3 separate regions of the Homo sapiens genome follow, and all the other regions are linked to region 3. The links are contacts of gene promoters, found by promoter capture Hi-C in blood cells and fetal thymus (Javierre and others, 2016). All regions are on one chromosome and are shown on one strand. Each heading gives the region's core, a stretch centred on a gene start or on the middle of the fragment in contact. The rest is flanking DNA. Distances are from core to core; before and after follow the strand shown.

What was found. Contacts are between HindIII fragments. The CHiCAGO score rates a contact against its expected background, and 5 or more counts as called.
Region 1: a contact is called between a fragment that was not itself captured here and the fragment with the promoter of PPBP in region 3, in 1 of 17 cell types (megakaryocytes). The highest score is 12.0, in megakaryocytes.
Region 2: a fragment that was not itself captured here is called in contact with the fragment with the promoter of PPBP in region 3 in 1 of 17 cell types (neutrophils); the score reaches 6.1 in neutrophils.

The regions. Positions count from the first base shown.
Region 1 is chr4:74,130,964-74,135,413 of GRCh38, forward strand. The region is part of intron 1 of LOC105377277 (a long non-coding RNA gene); the gene reads right to left. It also overlaps a transcript of MTHFD2L not described here. Among named protein-coding and RNA genes, the nearest start is that of MTHFD2L, 25 kb to the right of the region's middle. The HindIII fragment of the contact is 511 bases long and covers 1,921-2,431 here.
Region 2 is chr4:73,768,143-73,772,873 of GRCh38, forward strand. No RefSeq gene overlaps it. Among named protein-coding and RNA genes, the nearest start is that of CXCL8, 30 kb to the left of the region's middle. The HindIII fragment of the contact is 2,775 bases long and covers 1,336-4,110 here.
Region 3 is chr4:73,985,473-73,990,197 of GRCh38, forward strand. It overlaps PPBP (pro-platelet basic protein), which reads right to left and starts at 2,718. Exons shown (of 3, transcript NM_002704.3): 1 at 2,484-2,718; 2 at 2,045-2,180; 3 at 967-1,902. The coding sequence starts at 2,631. The coding sequence ends at 1,800. RefSeq lists an enhancer at 1-397. The HindIII fragment of the contact is 3,234 bases long and covers 916-4,149 here.

The sequences.
Region 1 (4,450 bases), core at 926-3,425, 140 kb after region 3:
ATCCTGAGTGAACTCCCATTCACAATTGCTACAAAAAGAATAAAATACCTAGGAATACAACTTACAAGGGATGTGAAGGACCCTTCAAGAAGAACTACAAACCGCTGCTCAAGGAAATGAGAGGACACAAACAAATGGAAAAACATTCTATGCTCATTGATAGGAAGAATCAATATTGTGAAAAAGGCCATACTGCCCAAAGTAATTTATAGATTCAATGCTATCCCATCAAGCTACCATTGACTTTCTTCACAGAATTAGAAAAAGCTACTTTAAATTTCATGTGGAAACAAAAAAGAGCCCATATAGCCCAGACAATCCTAAACAAACAGAAAAATGCTGCAAGCATCATGCTACCTGACTTCAAACTATATTACAAGTCCACAGTAATCAAAACAGCATGGTACTGGTAACAAAATAGATATACAGACCAATGGAACAGAACATAGGCCTCAGAAATAACACCACTCATCTACAACCATCTGATCTTTGACAAACGATAAAAATAAGCAATAGGGAAAGGATTCCTTATTTAATAAGTGGTGTTAGGAAAACTGGCTAGCCATATGCAGAAAACTGAAACTGGACCCCTTCCTCACACCTTAAACAAAAATTAACTCAAGATGGATTAAATACTTAAACATAAGGCCTAAAGCTATAAATGCCCAAGAAGAAAACCTAGGCAGTACCATTCAGGACACAGGCATGGGCAAAGTCTTCATGACTAAAACACCAAAAGCAATGGCAGCAAAAGCCAAAATTGACAAATGGGATCTAATTAACCTAAGGAGCTTCTGCACAGCAAAAGAAACTATCATCAGAGTGAACAGGCAACCTATAGAATGAGAGAAAAATTTTGCAATCTATCCATCTGACAAAGGGCTAATATCCAGGATCTACAAAGAACTTAAACAAATTTACAAGAAAAACAAACAAACATGCCCATCAAAAAGTGGGTGAAGGATGTGAACAGACACTTCTTAAAAGAAGACATTTATGCGGCCAAAAAAACATATATAAAAAGAAAGCTCATTATCACTGGTCATTAGAGAAATGCAAATCAAAACCACAATGAGATACCATCTCACACTAGTTAGAATGGCAATCATTAAAAAGTCAGGAAACAACAGATACTGAAGAGGAAGTGGAGAAATAGGGATGCTTTTATATTGTTGGTGGGAGAATAAATTAGTTCAGCCATTATGGAAGACAATGTAGCGATTCCTCAAGGATCTAGAACCAGAAATACCATTTGACCAGCAATCTCATTACTGGATATATACCCAAAGGATTATAAATCATTCTACTATAATCACACATGCACAGGTATGTTTCTTGCAGCACTATAGCAATAGCAAAGATGTCAAACCAACCCAAATACCCATCAATGATAGATTGGATAAAGAAAATGTGGCACATATACACCATGGAATACTATGCAGCCATAAAAAAGGATGAGTTCACATCCTTTGCAGAGACATGGGTGAAGCTAGAAACCATCATTCTCAGCAAACTAACACAAGAACAGAAAACCAAACACCACATGTTCTCACTCATAAGTGGGAGTTGAACAATGAGAACACATGGACACAGGGAGGGGAACATCACACACCAGGGCCTGTCAGAGGGTGGGGCGCTAAGGGAGGGACACCATTAGGAGAAGTACCTAATGTAGATGACGGGTTGATGGGTGCAGCAAACCACCATAGCACATGTATACCTATGTAACAAACCTGCACATTCTGCACATGTATCTCAGAACTTAAAGTATAATAATAATGAAAAAAATGCTCTACACTTTAACTCCACACCTCCCACAAACACTTTGAATTTTTATTATATCAGTTCGCATATTTTAAAAATATCTATTTTGAACAGGTTGTTGTCGCTATTATTGTTTTTGATAGATTTGTCTTTATAAGCTTCTTACTAGAGTTATGATTGGATTGCACACCACAATTAAATTATTAGCATATTCTGGGGTTGTGTTCATACTTAATTTTACCAGTGGGTTTTATACCTTGAAATATTTTCTTTTAGTTAGTACACTAATATGTTAGCATTTTTTAATTTCAGGTTGAAGAATTCCCTTTAGCATTTCTTGCAAGACGGGTCTAGTAGTGGTGAATTCTCTTAGCTTTTGTCTGTGAAAGACAATTTCTCTTTGTTAATGCTGCCCTATTTCCTTCTGGCCTACATGGTTTCCATTGTGAAGTCTGTTGCCAGATGAACTGGAGTTGCTTTGTTATTTTACTCTTTTGCTGCTTTCTGGATCTTCTCTTTGTCTTTGATATTTGAAAGTTCAATTATTATATGCCTTGGTTAGTGTTACTTGGGTTGAATCTGTTTGGTGTTCCCTGACCTTTCTATATCTAGATATTTCTGTCTTTCATGAGTTTTGGAAAGTGCTCTGTTATTATTTCTTAGGATAAGCTTTTCTCCCCTTGCTCTTGCTCAGCTCCCCCTTAAACACCAATAATTTTTAGATTTGGTCTTTTGAGGTAATTTTCTATATTTTAAAGGTGGCCTTCATTTCTTTTTATTGTTTTTTTCTTTTCTTTCTTTGGACTGTATTTTCTTAATAGCCAGTCTTTGAGCTCACTGATTCTTTTCTCTAACCCATTCTGTTATTGAGATCCTCTAAAGAGTGTTTCAATTCAGCAAATGTGGTTCTCCGTTCCAAGATTTCTGTTTCATTTTTAAATTATTATTTCAATTTTCTTGTTAAATTTCTCTGATAAGTATCTGAATTGTTTTTCTATGTTATCTTGTAGGTCACTGAGTTTCCTTAAAATTGCTATTTTGAATTCTTAGTTATAAAGTTCACATATCGGTTTTCTAATCCCAAAATGGCAGCATAGAAGCAAGCTTGCTTCTCTCCCCTCCACCAGAAACCAAAAAGAAATACACAGCAGCAAGATCTTCACCAGCAGCAACCCAGAGATCCTGTATGAGGATGAGACAGTTCCTGTAGGTACAGAGAAGTGGAAACATTCTGAGCAGATGGTAGGAGAACCAGATTCTACATCCATGAGGCCTCTTCCCTGCATTACACCAGGCATCAGCAGTATGAAAAATCTGCCCTCAACTCATGGTTTCTGCACTGAAAAACGTGAAATTGAGATTGTCAACCAGCTTTCCCATCTTCTTCGGTTTCCTGCCAGGAGACCTGCCTTTGCCTTAAACCACAGGTAGCACTGTGACTGCCTGGAGGGAGAAATGTCTGTGAAGGCTGGCAAAGACAAATAGGGAAGCCAGGACTACCATCCTCAGCCGTAAAAACTCCTTGTAACTTGACCAAAGGAGATGCCAAATCAGTAGAAATCATGTAGCAAGTATGTTCCACAAGTCCCCTGGGAACACACCCGTGGCCGGCCTTCCCACAGTGCTAGGGTAATCCCTTTGGTCCTCCTCCTTATGGGACAGGCAGTGCCATGGCCATTTGCAAAAGTCAAGGTAAACATAGGCTTATGGCGCCATCTAGAGCCGAAAACAAGGCAGCAAGCTGGCAGTTAAGATTCATAAGCAACTGTATTCAATAAAAACCAAACCAAACTAGACAGATAAAGCTGGACTAAATAATTATTAATACAAATACATAGATGTATACCCACAAGAAACAACAGCAAACATGGAACCATAACCTTCTAGACAAAGCAAAGTTCCAGCGACTGACCCTCCTGAGATGGCGATTTGTGAACTCTCTGACCAAGAATTCAAAACAGCTGTTTTAAGGAAACTTTGTTATCTCTAAGATAACACAGAAAAGCAACTCAGATATTTATCAGAGAAATTTAACAAGGAAATTGAAATAATGATAAGCAGAAATCTTGTAACTAAGAACTACATTTGCTGAACTAAGAAACTCTTCAGGGGATCTCAACCACAGAATAGGTCAAGCAGAGAAGAGAATCAATGAGCTCAAAGACTGGCTGTTAAAAAATAAACAGAGGAGAGAAAAGAAAAAAAGAATGAAAATGAGAGAAGGCCACTTACAAGATATAGAAAATTACCTCAAAGACAAAATCTAAAAATTATTGATGTTCAAGAGAGAGCAGAGCAGGAGCAAGGGTAGAAAGCTTATTCAAAGAAATAATAAGAGAATACTTTCCAAAACATGAGAAAGATATAAATATTCAGGTACAGGAAGGCCTTAGAGCATCACATTAGTCAAATAAGACTAATGAAGGTATTTACTAATCAAACTGTCAAAGATCAAGCATAAAGATAAAACTGTAATGGCAGCAAGAGAAAAGAAGCAAGCAGCATATAAAGGAGCTCCAAATCATCTTTAGCCAGAATAAGAAAAAAAGAGAGAAGACCCAAATAAATAAAAGTAGGAACAAAAATGGACACATGACAACTGAGACCTCAGAAATACTAAGAATCATTAGAAACAATTAGGAACCATTACATGCCAACAAATTGGAAAATATAGAAGAAATGGATA
Region 2 (4,731 bases), core at 1,473-3,972, 220 kb before region 3:
TGCAAACAAGATTATGATGCAAAGCTGGAGAGTAATGGATCCCTGAGGTAGGACAGCTGAAGGCAATTTGCAAGCTGAAGGCAATTTGCTTCTGCTGGGCCTTGTGGACAAGAAGGGAGGAAAAGGCATTTGCCAAATCAGTGATTGCATACCAGGTACCAGGAGGTGTGTTAATTTGTTCAAGCAATGAAACCACATCTGGTACAGCAGCTGAAATTGAAGTCACCATTTGATTAAGATTACAGTAATCCACTGTCATTCTCCAAGATCTATCTATCTTCTGTATGGGCCAAATAGGAGAGTTGAACAGGGATCTGCATCTTTCAAGTCCTTCATGGTGGCACTGATCTCTGCAATCTCTTCAGGGATGCAATATTGTTTTGACTTACTATTTTTTTAGGTAGAGGCAGCTCTAATGGCTTCCATTTGAGCTGCCTTTCATTTTCCACCATAATAACCCTCACCCTACCAGTCAGGGAGCCAATGTGGGGATTCTACCAGCTGCTAAGTATGTCTATGCGAATTATGGATTCTGGCACTGGGGAAATAACCACAGGATGAGTCTGGGTACCCATTGGACTGACTGGAAGTGGGACATTAGCTAAAACTCCATACATTACCTGACCTACATAAGCCCCTACTTTAACTGGAGGACCACAGTGGCATTTTGGGTTCCCTGGAATGAATGTCAGCTAAGAGCCAGTGACCAGTATTCCCCAAATAATCTGATCATTTTCCTTTCTGCAATGCACAGAAAGGCTACAAGAGGTGAACCCCAGAGGCCCCTCTAGCAATGGAGCCAGCTCCCTCTTGCCTGCTCCTCTTGGTCCACCCCATCCTCCCTATCCAGTTTATCTCTCCTGTTTGCTCCCTCCTAGAAATCCTCACCCTAGATAAGCCCCAGTCCCACTCTTGCCCCTCCAACAGATGCCTGGTGAATTTGGTCCCTGGTAAGATCCAGGTCCCTTTCCCTCTAAAGGACTTAAGGCCAATTAAGGGGGATCTTGGCAAGTTTTCACATGATGCTGACAGATGTATAGAGGCTTTCCAGAACTTAACTCAAGTATTTGAACTCTCCTGGGAAGATGTTATGCTACTTTTGAATCAAAGCCTGACTAACACTGAGAAGCAGGCTACTCTGCAAGTGGCAGAGAGATTTGGGGAATGAGCTTTCTATTACATACAGTGTCAGGGAAGGGGTCAAACTTTATCCAACTAGAAGAGAAGCAGTACCGTTGGATAACCCTAAATGGGATCTCACTGACAAGATGGGAGAATGGAAGAGGAGACACATTCAGGTGTGCATAATGGAGGGATTATGTAGGACTAGAACTAAGCTTCTCAATTATTCTAAGTTATCCATGATAGACCAGGTATTTGATGAGAATCCCACTGCTCTCCTGGAAAGGTTAAAAGAGGCCTTGGTGAAGCACAACTCTCTACTTCCTGATTCAGTTAAGGGACAACTAATCCTAAAGGATAAATTTATTACTCAGGCAGCCCCTGAGATCAGGAGGAAGCTGCAGAAACAGGCCCTGGGACCAGATAGTACTTTAGAGAACCTCCTGAAAGCAGCCACCTGTCTTTTACAATAGGTCACTGGAATAGATTCTTGAATTTATTACACCCATGTAAATGCCTGGGAAGCTGATGAACCCAAAGAGTACCCAAAGTACCAATATGAAGAGGTTGGGGACCTCAAGCTAAAAATTACAAAAGATAAGTGTTAAACTTCCATGGATATCCTCTTTATAGTCTTGCCTATGTTCGCTGTTTTTACCTTTATTCTGTTCTATACTGCAGGATACAATATTGTGTCTAGAAGGAATAGTATATTTTACTTCTTATTTCTGTAAACTTTGTCACCAGATTATCTCCTTTTAACCCCGTTTTGTATAATACATATATTTGATCCATGCAAACTTATCCCTGTAAAACTTGTTTCTTCTCACCTAAAGGCGATCAAATTCCAAAGGGTCATGTAACTGGAGCCTCGGACAATGGCTCCCTTTTACCAGAGGCCCTTAGGTAAACCTCTGAGGGAAATCTGACCACTGTTTTCTTCAAAACAGTGTCCCCAGTAAGCAGAAAGTAGCTAAGATCGGTCATTGTCTGTATTCTAATGGCAGTGAGATGTTCCGCTTTGAAAAGGGAAATGATGGGGAAAGGAGGCAGAGAAATTCTAGGTAAAAAAGGGCAGGTCCCTGGTGAAGCCCTATCCTCAAGCTGAAAAGCCCGAGACCATGGCCAAAGTGAGAACTGTTTTCCCATGCGAACTTTGCCTTTTCCTAAGTCACCCATGACCCTGCCCCACCCCATCCTGTGCCTATAATGACTCCAGACTCAGCCAGCAGAGGGAAGAAGCAGCTGGACCTTGGGGACTACAGCTAGACATTGGAGAGAAGTGGCTTGACTTCAGAGGGATGGCTTGACCACGTAACTTTGGAGAAGAATCCTGCTGAACATGGCTGGACTTCAGGGGAAGATTACTTCCCCTTTTCAGCTCTCTTTCCCACTGAGAGCCACTTTCATTGGCAATAAAATCTCCCACATTTACCATCCTTTAAATCATTCATGCGACATCATTTTCCGTGGACACCTGACAACAGCTTGGGAGCCACAAGTGTGAATACAAAAGGCTTCATACTGGCCCTTTTCCCTCGCTGGCAGAAGGCAGCCACCTCACATGAAAAGAAAGAAGTCCCACTGAACTATTAACATTTTAGCTGTCTGTGGATGGGAGAGCTAAAAGAATACTGTAACATGTCCTCTGGGACTTCAGGGGTCACAGGCACCATCCCATTGATGCTGCTGCAAAGCCCACATGGAGTTTGCTCCTGCCAGTGCCTAAATGTGCTTGCCCTGGCTCCTGCACTCGCTCACCTGTGCACTCCCTCCTGAAAGGGGTGGAACACAGCAGGTGCAAGTGAGTGGAGTTTGCTCCTGCTGGCACCAAAGCAGCCAGCTGGTTCCAGGGCTCATGCAATCCAGTTCCTGCCTCATTTGATAGCGTGCTCCCTCCCACAAGAGTTGAAAGCTGCTGACTGAGTAAATGAGGCACCTCTGTTGTGAGTCCTGTGAAAGGGTCAGGGAAATATTCTTCTTCACTACCAAAAGACATGCTTTCATGAGTAGGCTGACAGAACTATTAGGGAGGATAGTTTTATTTCTTCATGCGTTTTCTGGGAATCCTTGCTACTTGTGGCATATACATGAGATGGTTTCTCTGTGTCCTTGCATTGGCCATCTCCACCTTAGTGAAGCCAGGTCTGCACCGTTCCTTATTATGATTTCTTTTTCTTCCCTTTTTGACACAGTAAGATCACCTGGATGTTGCTCAAAATGATGGCATGTAATAATTTTTAAACATTTGGAGATCAGATGAGATTGGGTGTGTTCAGGATGTATGGCCATAGAGAAGACAAGATATATAATAAATATTATATATTGTATCTTAGATATATGTATCAACTATGTTGATCTATTATCTATCATCTATCTTTCAAGAATAGAAAATTTATCTTGAACCCACTCCTCTCAAAAAAGAAGTGTGTCAATAAATGTTCAGAAACAATGGTGAGCATGTACCATTTTGTTGATAAAATATGTTTTATCTAATTCAGTAGTGCAAGCTATTATTGTCTCTACCACCTCACATGTCCACATGATAAGAAGCAGTCTGAATAGCTGATGTTAATGTGCCTCAAATTAATTCATGCATTCTTCTTAGGGACTCCTGGTGAGAGTAAAGAAGTGCTATTTATTGAACACCAACAGTGAACACTGTGCTAAGTGCTGTATTACAAGGGTGTAGGATCATTGTTGTCCATGCTCTTACAGGATAAATAAAAATAAAGCAGTATGGCAGGAACACAGAGAGGAGAGCTCTGACCTTTGACTCAGGAGCCTTCACTGGTTCCACACACATCACTTAGTGAATAATAATTAAGGTATCTTGAGTGACTCTTCATGAAACAGTTGTAAAACACTGTGTTTCTTAAAACTTTCCCCCACTGACTTATGTATTTATTGCTAATTTGTCAAAATCGTCTTCCACTTTGGAAATATAAATAGTTAGTACAACTTTACTAATTTATGCTATTTTTAGAAAGCTTCGAAATAGCACCAATTTACTACAAGGACTATGCTGGGGGCTAAACTTTTCCCCTATTCCTAAATTCATATGTTAAAGTCTTCAACCCGAGTGCCTCAGAATGAATCTCAGACAATATCGCAAATTTTATGATCCTCTAAAAATATTCCACTTGAATTTTCTATGCAGGCTTTAAAAAATTATTGTTATATCACTGTGAATTGTCTATACTTTGTTAATTTGGATAGATTTTCTGAGTTCCTGAATTTATTTTTGTGACTTTGTACTAATATAGTCACAAAGCAATATATCACAAGCATTTATGTGGAGATATTTTGAGAACTTGAAAGAAGTTTCAGTTCCCTAACATCCAGGAATAAACAATAATTAAGTAATTTTAATGTGTCTGGGTCATTGGGGTTGTAGAAAGAATATAGAAAAAGTTAAGAATGCATTAAAGATTGTCTATATTTTCTCTTTTCACTTGGAATAAACCTAACTAAATGCTAAATATATTTTAAGTAGATACGTCTTTCTGGATAATTCATGTTGTATTAAGGATTATTATATATACCCAGTAAATTTAATTCCTAATATCCTGGGCCCCCAAACATACAGGAAATAAAGATATATAACCT
Region 3 (4,725 bases), core at 1,468-3,967:
GTTTGCAGTGTAAAGGAATCCAGGTGGTCCTGAGTGGCAACTGAATCATTCTTTCTCTGCATGTAAACAGAGTAACTCAATACATGCACTCAAAAACAGAAGACATCTGCATCTCGGGAGGTATAAGCATGGTGTCAACACTGTGCCATGTCTCAGGAGCTGGTCTTGTCAAGTTTCAGTGGGAAACCACTAAACATAATGAGTGAGATGCCTGATACCCTATAATTATTATAGTATATACAGTATGCTATTTATGTATCAAGTTGTATTACATGTGTGAATAATACTATGTTATATGTAATGTAATCTCTTCATTAGAGAAAGAAGAGTTGAGGAAAGCACTGTGGTGTGGTGGTTAAGAGCACAATTTGAAATTCCCACTCTGTTACCTACTTAGTTATCTGAAAGTGGGCAAGTATTTTAAACTCTATAAACTTGATTTTTCTCTTCTGTAACACTGGGGAGGATAATAATAATCATAAGAAATAATTACTAACATTTATGTGTGGCTTATTTATGACACACATTATTTTAAATACCTTAAATTTATTAACTTTTTTAATCCTTCCATAAACTCTATGAGGGAGGCAATATTATCCCCATTTTAGGGATGAAGAACCTAAGGTACAGAGAAATTAAGCAACATGACCTGATATACACAGCTAACAAGTGGCAGAGCCAGGTTACCTCATTATTCAAACTCCAGAGGATGTTCTTTTAACCAGATCATATCTATCTTTTAAAAAATTGTTTAGTTCATGCATGGAAAACACTTAGTATTCCTGGCATATTAAAATGATTAATAAATTGGAACTGTTATCATACTACATTAAGAATGACACCGATCATCAATTTAGTAACTTTTGTTGTTCAAACTGTGAAATACCAAGTATACAAAAAAGAGAGGAAAATTAAAGCTTTTTTTCCCCAACAATCCTGTTAAAATTAATAATAGATGACAACAAGTCAATAGCAAATTTTTATTTCATGTGAATATTTTTGTAAGAATAGTGTGGGTATAAGTTTTAGGGTTTAAAAAATGAATGAAAGTTCTGTTGATGAAAAAAGTAGAATTTAGAATTAGGAGTCTAGTAAGGTTGAAGTCCTATATTGTACTTATTTATAAGGCTCATTCTAATGATAGAATTATAACTATGTAGATATGTTAATTCATTTTCATCATCTATTTTTGTTCTACTAGTGGCAAATATATTCACTTTAAACCAGCTAACCACAGTTTATAAGATTCATATTCACCAATTTATTATTTTAGTGTTTGATGGCTAAAATAAACATCAGAATAAACTTTCAGGGAGTATTTTAAATAAGACATCCTAGGACTAAGACACTGAGAGACTCCATTAAGTTCCTAAATATATTAACAAAAATGTATTGAGCAAATATTCTCTGTTGGGCTCCATGTAATTCCTATTATCATTGACCATTATGAAATCTAATAATACCCATGAGTATGTCTAATAACCATAAAGTAGACCAGGAAAAATCAACCAAGTTGTGTTAGAATAGAAATTTTTAAAGAAAAAAATGCAAAGTACAGTCCAATGTTTAGGCAAGAATTAGAGGGTTGAAACCAGGCTTATTTATTTTCATCTTCTTTCTGCCATCTTTTAACCAACCTTCTCAGAATAAAATGTGATTTTTGAGACAGAATGAAACACATATCCAAATTTTAATACAGTAAGAATAGGTATCCTGAATAAATGAGAACTCTAGAAAATCAAGGTTTCAAAATTCTACCCTTCCTGGGAGTTAAAGAAGTTTGGCAGAAACAGAACAAATTAATCAGCAGATTCATCACCTGCCAATTTTTTCTGTACAATTTTCTTGATTCTGGGAGCATCTGGGTCCAGGCAGATTTTCCTCCCATCCTTCAGTGTGGCTCTGCAAAAGAGAACAGGGTTATCTGTGGGTGTCCTGATCTGAATATCAGAACTAATCCATGAGACTGGAGGAAACGAGTGCATATGTGGATGGAGGTAGAGGGTTTCTCTGATAAGGCAATAGCACAGAAACAGCAACTTACATCACTTCGACTTGGTTGCAATGGGTTCCTTTCCCGATCACTTCCAAACTTTGGATGTTTTTGGGATGAATTCCAGAGGTTGTCTTTATACACATGCAGCGGAGTTCAGCATACAAGTCACTGTCTAGACTTTCCTCTAGGGTAGAAAATGTGACCTATTGGTGGTCATGAATATTTTCCTCAGGTCTCTTATTTGCAGATTGAGGGCAATTGTACCTCTCTCATAAAGCCATTGTGAATATGATCTGTAACGCTTTAGTAAAGTGCCCAGAAGATTGCCCAGCACACAAGAAGTGAGAAGTGACCCCCCTGTGTGTCTCCTCCAATTGGAGTTATTGGTATAATGGCCCTCTCCAGCCCCAAAGGCACCAAGCTAGTCTTTACCCCAGAGACAGGTGTAGCAGAAGCAGCAACAAGTGCAGAGAAGCAGGGCCTCTACCTTTGCCTTTCGCCAAGTTTCTCTTAGTTTGTCCTTTGGTGGAGGAAGCCAGAGCAGTCAGCAGCAATGACAGAAGCAGCAGCACCTGCAAGGCATGAAGTGGTCTCGCACTGTTACAGGAAGGGGTGGTATCAAGTCTGAGGCTCATGGTGGAGAAGGCTGAGCTAGAGTTGTTTCCAGAACCAGAAGACCTCTGAGTGAGGGTGAGTTGCTGCCTACAAGTCTGCAGATAAGTGGCTTCTCATGCCCTGAAGATGTCATTTATATGCTCTTTCTCAAAGCCAGTAAGAAGGAAGAGGTAGGAAAGGAGGAAGTGAGGGTATGTGGTGATACACACATAAGCATTTGAAGCTGTGCCCAACCCAGAGAAAGACCAGACAGGTCAAATTCCTACTAACTTGCTTAATGTGCATCACTTCACATTCCCACTCTCCCTTTCTCAATACTTATCTTCCTTACACCTGTGTAAGAACTCCGTTCAGGAAGGTAAGAACTAGACTGAAATACTACATGCATTTTCTTTGTATGATTTATAACAATACGCCCTGCCTTTTCTATACTGCAGTTTTTAGGCTTAATAGAAACTTTAGGAGCACCTGAAGGCACAAACATGTGGCCCTTGAAAGAGAAAGTTATCTTTGCTTGCCAAAGAAAGCAAATGTTCTTTTCATGAATGTTGATAAATATTGGGATTGGTTTGGAGCATGTAAGTAAAATAAGAGCCAATTACCGTCAAAGGTTGTCTTTGGATTTTAGCTTATTGGATTCTTTCTGCCTTCAATCTATATTATCTTTTGTAATTTCATCTAGAAACTACAAATGAAACTCATCCTCCTTTATATTACAAAAGAAGCTACTTGTTTCTACCACCTAAGAATACCTAAAAAGTAGGACCCAGCATATTTATTTTTCTTTTTATTTTTAATTTAACAGAAAAATTATATAATTTATTGCAAAAGATTCGTATGCTGCAGATGTCTTTGAAATAAAACACAAATTTCTCTTCATCATTTCTCCACATTCCTACTATTCAGTGGTAAACACTGGTAACAATTTTGCATTAGTTTTCAATTCTGTCTGCACTTATATGCACACATGTATATGTATACAATGAGACACGTTTAAGACATAGAGGTACACATATACATAGAAGTATTGTATATGGATCACTATACAGCTGACTTTTATCCTTCAAAAAATATGTGTTCCTTATCTTTTCAGGTCATCTTAATGTAGTTTTCCCCCATTCTTCTTAATGACCATGTGACGTCCTGTGATAAGAACAATAGTTACTCAACCTTGCCTTGTTGGTGCCCTTCACGGTGTTTCCAATTTTGCACTATTAGAAATTGTGCAAGAAATGTCCTTACCAAGGAAAATATTTGTTCCTGAATTCTCAGACCCAAATTAAAGGTTTTGGTCTGAAATGCTATATCCCTACAAAGATAGAGAGGTGGACCTACACATTACATGTTGGCTTTATGTTATTTTCTGGTTCTCTGTCCCATCTGTAAGACTTCCTTCCTCAATTGAACCATGCACTTTTGTAGGGAGTGGCATGTCCTGTGTTTGTTTGAATGTCTCATGTATCCTATAACATGTAGGATACTTCAATATAAAGTAGGTCTTAAATAATTAATAAATCAATGAATACGTATCACATGAAAGCTTCCCTATCCTTTCTAATCACCTACAATTCCAGGCCAAACTCGACAGGACCCAAAGCAACTATGCTATTTAAATTTATTTGGAAGATTGTCAATAAAGAAGAGGCAGATGTAAGTGGCACTGGCAACAAGTTTTCTTCCTTTTACAACTATGTATAAGTCTCACAGAATATTATTTAAATTTTCCATATTCTTTTCTTACTTTTCATATCCTTAAATTTTAGAAGAAATGCTTAAAATACTAAATGTTCAAAATTACTCTCTATCAAAAAGATGAATATAGTAATTTTTTAAATCATGTTTTTGTTTTCAAGCCAATTTTCCCTATTGTTTAATAGTTATCTACTATGTCTACTCAAGTTCTCAGGTCCTGTTTTTAAATGCGATAACCTACAGACCACATTTGACAGTTTACTTTAGAAGTAAGCAGACTTCCAAATTAACTCGCCCTGGAAAGGTTTCGTGACTTGATGGTGACATTCTATCTCTGAGTAAAGTATTTTATTACGAGTTCCTCAAATGATTGATGTACTAATTACTGTAGAACCTACTGACACTAAATAGGACAATGATTT